Regions from separate parts of the Homo sapiens genome. Here region 2 is linked to region 1. The links are contacts of gene promoters, found by promoter capture Hi-C in human tissues and cell types (Jung and others, 2019). All regions are on one chromosome and are shown on one strand. The core of a region is centred on a gene start or on the middle of the fragment in contact, and the rest is flanking DNA. Distances in the headings are between cores, read along the strand shown.

Evidence for each region. Contacts are between HindIII fragments. The study calls those that stand out against the background at their distance.
Region 2: the fragment with the promoter of GRIK3 here is called in contact with the fragment with the promoter of OSCP1 in region 1 in 2 of the 25 tissues and cell types used here (mesendoderm cells and thymus).

What each region holds. Positions count from the first base shown.
Region 1 is chr1:36,449,171-36,451,756 of GRCh38, reverse strand. It overlaps OSCP1 (organic solute carrier partner 1), which reads left to right and starts at 1,306. Exons shown (of 10, transcript NM_145047.5): 1 at 1,306-1,499. The coding sequence starts at 1,388. LOC107984940 (a long non-coding RNA gene) reads right to left here. Exons shown (of 3, transcript XR_001737976.2): 3 at 2,192-2,299. RefSeq lists a silencer at 911-1,180. The HindIII fragment of the contact is 9,579 bases long and covers 1-2,586 here.
Region 2 is chr1:37,033,200-37,035,785 of GRCh38, reverse strand. GRIK3 (glutamate ionotropic receptor kainate type subunit 3) reads left to right here and starts at 1,271. Exons shown (of 16, transcript NM_000831.4): 1 at 1,271-1,792. The coding sequence starts at 1,678. RefSeq lists enhancers at 20-580, 581-1,142, 1,717-2,586. The HindIII fragment of the contact is 18,806 bases long and covers 1-2,586 here.

The DNA of each region.
Region 1 (2,586 bases), core at 57-2,556:
AAAACAAATGAAGGGATGAATGTAAGAAAGGTGTTGGAGGAAAAAGCATAATATGATGACTGATAAAAGACCCTGGGAAACAGATTTGGAAGCCAAGGCCCAAGTTTCAAGTTTGAGTAGCTGGAGGGAAAGATAATTAGTAGGTTTTGGAAGTACTGAAATTTACAGAAATGGTTGTTCATCAGAGTAAAAATATACAGCAGATGGCAAAAAGTAATCCTGGAGCTTAAGATGGAGGTAAGGAAGGGAGTCGCTGCCCTCAAAGAGAAATGGTTGGGGCCGGGCGTGATAGCTCACGCCTGTAATCTCAGCACTTTGGGAGGCCCAGGCGGGCAGATCACCTGAGGTCAGGAGTTCCAGACCAGCCTGGCCAACATGGTGAAACCCCGTCTCTACTAAAAATACAAAAATTAGCCGGGCATGGTGGCGGGCGCCTGTAATCCCAGCTACTCGGGAGGCTGAGGCAGGAGAATCGCTTGAACCCTGAAGGCGGAAGTTGCAATGAGCCGAGATGGCGCCACTGCACTCCAGCCTGAGCGACAAGGGCAAAATCCGTCTCAAAAAAAAAAAAAAAAGAAAAAAGAAATGGTTGGGAGGCCTTCGGAACAGCGTCGAGGAGGGAACTTCCCAGAGCCCCCAGGCGCATCCTCTGGGAACTGGACACACGGGGACGGACGGGACTGGTTTGCTTCATGGAGTATGAAACCAGGAGGGGCTTCACTTCAAGTAAACTTTTGGGAGGCGATGCAAACGACTCAGGACTTCTGATCCTTCCCTCGTCTAAAAGAAAAGTCAGTTACCATTTTTATTGAGTGCTTTCGGGGCCTTTCCATGATCTGACTGATTCCTCTCAGCCGCCCTGTGATGTGAGTGCCAGCTCCATGTTACGTAAGAGGAAGCCAAGGCTCAAACCCTGCCCGAAGTCACACAGCAAGAAATCACGAGCCGTGATTCCAACCCAGGTCCGTCTGACCCGAGCCTGCTCTAATGCCGTTCTGCCTGGGCTTTCCTCTGTTATAGGAACCTGAGGCCCCGCGCCAGCGGCCGGGGTCCCAAGCGCCGGGCTGGCTGTGTCGAGACCACCCCCAGCCCTGGCCCGGCCCTCGCCCTTTCGAGGGAAACCTACTCTCAGAAGCACAGCTCCCCAGCCGCGCCCAACGCCGCGCCGGCCTCTGGCTCGGACCAATCCCCCCGGGACGGTCCACCACCCAGACCAATTAGCTCCCGTCTTCAGGGCACCTCCCACCAAACCGCCTTCTGATTGGCTCGCTCTTCCCGTCACGGCGTTGCCCCAGCAACCGGACTATTGGGACGCTGCGGCCTGGCCTTCAGGCCACTGGCTACCGAACCCCGGGGCTCTTCACCAGTCCAGCTCGTTTCCAGCACCATGTCGGTGCGGACGCTACCGCTGCTCTTCTTGAACTTGGGCGGGGAGATGCTTTACATCCTCGACCAACGGCTGCGGGCCCAGAACATCCCGGGAGACAAGGCCCGCAAAGGTGAGAGGCCCCCGGCCCGCTCAGCCAGACCCGCAGCCAGCAGCCCGGCCCTCTCATCATCGCCCTAACACCCACAGCCAGACCCGCACCCCTACACACTTCACTCTTATAACCAGGGACCTTTCTTACAAGCCACATCCATTTGGAGCCCCTCGGGAGTCAAATCCCCCCAAAAGCTTTTTTCACAGCAGAGGAACTTAATACTCCCAGTGGACACTAGGGTGCCTGACCTCCCTAATTTCCCCATCTCTTCAAATGGGAGAGGTGATTTCCCAGTCTCTCTTGTCAATCAGTGCCTTCCAAATGTAGGAGTCCCAGCTGCCCACCATCTAGTATCATACCCCTTGCTAGTCCAAGCATCCTCTTTACCCCCAAGGAACAGGTTCTGATTTTTTTTTTTTTTTTTTTTTTTTTTTTTTTTTGAGACAGGGTCTCGCTCTGTCGCCCAGGCTGGAGTGTGTGGCACGATCTCGGCTCACTGCAACCTCTGCCTCCTGGGTTCCAGCGATTCTCGTGCCTCAGCCTCCCAAGTAGCTGGGATTACAGGCATGCACCACCACACCCAGCTAATTTTTGTATTTTTAGTAGAGATGGGGTTTCACCATGTTTCCCAGGCTGGTCTTCAATTCCTGGACTCAAACGATCTGCCCCCCTCGGCCTCCCAAAGTGCTGGGATTATAGGCGTGAGCCACCGCGTCCAGCCCAGGTTCAGATTCTTAATTTCTTTATGGTAGTATCTTCCCACATAAGCTGGAGATTGGTCTTACTCATCTCAGAAGTATTTCTAGAAATTTGGTGTTCTAAAATAATATAGATAAATATGAAAAAAATAAGAAAGTTATAAATCTCCTCACAAGTGTTGGAGGGGAATACAATTGTGAAAATAATTATATGAGAGCTTCGAAAATGCAAAATCTGCCTCCCATGGACACCACACTAATCCCCAGAAAAATGACGACTCAGAACACTCTGCCACTCTGTTCCTTTTCCTCTTTTCCTCCCTTCTCGGCAAACAACTTGCTTATACCAAATTTCCTAGGATTAAGTATGAAGGAAATATTATATTTCAAAGTGGAGGAGGAAAAGT
Region 2 (2,586 bases), core at 22-2,521, 580 kb before region 1:
GAGGGAAATTAACAGGCGGGTGAGAGCTCGGCTCATAGAATATTTGTAAGAAAATTAAAGATTTGCTCTTCAGATGTTGGGGGCCATGCTCTTACCAGACAGCTGGCAAATGGGAAAGATTGGAAATGATAGAATAGATCAAATTATTTAAATGAGAAAAATAAATTCACACACAGCCTAGCCGCTGCCCGGTGACAGATCCGTTTATTTATCTACTGTATCGGCACCGCTTTGTCTCTGTCAAAAAGGTCATTAAACTCGCCTAACTGAGTAATTCGCAGCCTCCTGCTCCAGCCTCGCTCCACAGCCTTTCCCTTCCCTCACACCCAGCGCCACTTGAAAAAAAATTATTATTGCTAATAAACAACGTTGTTTTTCTTTTTAACCCCTTTAGCTTGCTCCCCCACGGATCCTACTCCATCCCACGACAAATTACAGTTTCTCTTTATTCTTTCTCAGGAGAATGAGGGAGGGGGCACCAGCCCTTCCTGCACAGTTACGGGAGAGGGCTGAGAGGGAGCGGGCCCGGCGCCCACGCCCCCCTACATCTAAGGCGTGAGCGGTCTTCCTCCTCCGCAGCCCCAGGACCTGTGCGCGGTCAAGTCCAGCTTCCCACAGCAGGGGGTCTGACTTGGGCTCTCCCACCTCTACCAACTCCCTCAGCTCCCCTGGCCCAGCGTAGACAATTCGCTTTGAATTCTGCCTCTCCGAACCCCCAGCCCCAACTCTGCTGCCAGGAGGAATGGGGTTGGGGAGGGAAGCCGGTTCCCGGGTCAGTCTCCCGCTGCCACCGCCGTCCAGCCAGCGCCCGCCGCGTGGGAGCCGCGAGGCCAGGCTCCGCAGACGGCGGGCTCCCGGTCTCGCTGCTCCCGGCGGGCGCGTCTCCTCCAGCTGGTCCGGCCGCTGGGCTGCCGCCGTCTCCCAGCTCGCGGTGCCAGCTCTCGCGCTCCACGCCTGGCTCCCGGGCTCCGTGCCCTCGCAGTAGAAGGGACTGGGGCCGGCGGGGCGGGTGGGGACGTCTGGGAAGCGAGGAGAGTCCTCGTTCTCCGGGCGTCCCCCTACAATGGGGCCAGGGTCCCCTTCCCCGCCCCCCGCGCAGGTGTGAGCGCGCGAGTGTGCGCCTCGGCAAGTGTGAGTGTGAAGTGTGTGTGCGCGGGGGAGTGCGCGGAGGGAGCGCGGGCGGCGGGCGGCGCGGGAGGCGGGAGGCAGGGCGCAGGGGAGGGGGCTGGGAGGGAGAGTGTGCGCGCGTGCAACTCCACTCCGGGGCTTTGTGCGAGCCCGGGCGATAGCATCGGCGGCGGCTGGAGGAGGAGCGGCCGGAGACGCGTGCAGCCCGCCCGCCAGAGCCCGGCAGCCGGGGCAGGTGGGAGCCCGCGCGGGAGCCGAGCCGACGCGAGTCGGAGCCGGAGCCGAGTCCGAGCGGAGTCCGGGCGGAGCCCAGGAGCCTCGCTCGCGGGCAGCCCGTGGGCGGCAGCCAGGCGGGGCGGGCGCCGGCGGGGCGGCCCCCCAGTAAGATGTGCGCGGCGCCGCGGGGCGCCCCCCACTTGCAGCGGCGCTCGGGAGCCGGGCGGCTGGGCCAGGCGGCGCCTTCGGGGCTGCTGCGCGCCCGCGCCTAGAGCTGCCGCCCCAGGGAGCCCGCCACGGCCGCGCCCCGGGCACGCTCGGCGGCGCCCAACGATGACCGCTCCCTGGCGGCGCCTCCGGAGTCTGGTTTGGGAATACTGGGCCGGGCTCCTCGTGTGCGCCTTCTGGATCCCGGACTCGCGCGGGATGCCCCACGTCATCCGGATCGGTAAGCGCTCCCTGGAGCCGGGGGTCTCCGTGCGCCCGGGAGGGGGCGGGAATGAGGGGGCCTCCCAACGCGTTCCGGAGAGATTTTCCTAACCTCTCTCCGAGCTGCTGAGCCGATCGGTGACCACCAGGAGCTCCTCCCTGTGAGGACAAAGTTCCAGAGTCGGGGTCACGGGCCTTACTTATTGGGGAGGAGGCCGCCGGGCCGCAGTGGGCGAGGGGCCCTTGGCGCGCTCCTGGGAGGTCAGACCTGGCACAGTGTGGCGAAGGTTTCCAGTGCGATCCCGAGTCGAGGGCGCATTTCGCGGTGACTGCCAGCATGAACCGCAGCCGACCGAGTTCTGCGATCGGGCTTCTCCGCAGAGTGGGGACCCTGGGGAAGGCGCCAACTTCTCTCCTCTGCCCACCTCACTCCCCGCGGGCCCTTCGTCCCCACCTCTGGCATAGCTCGAGCAGCCGCAGCGAGGTCGCAGGGCACAGATTCGCATGACGAGGGCAGCCGGTCTTCTCTCCTGGTGGTCGCCCTTGGCCTCGGTGGTACCGGTTCAGCCCCGTGCCATGGGGCGGGGGTTGGGGGAGCAGGACCCCGCTGCCCGCTGCAGCTGGTCCCTCGGGGCCAAGGCCTCTCTCCCGCCTGGGGCAGTGCAGGTAGAGGGAAGGGACGATGGAGGCCGCCCAGTGCGGCCCGGGCAGGCGGCCCAGGGACGCCAGCGGTTTTTAAAGTTAGCCCGAATTCCTCCGCAGCTGGCGGCGGCTGGCGGGGCTGCGCGCGGCTTTCCGGGGCTCCGGCTTCTC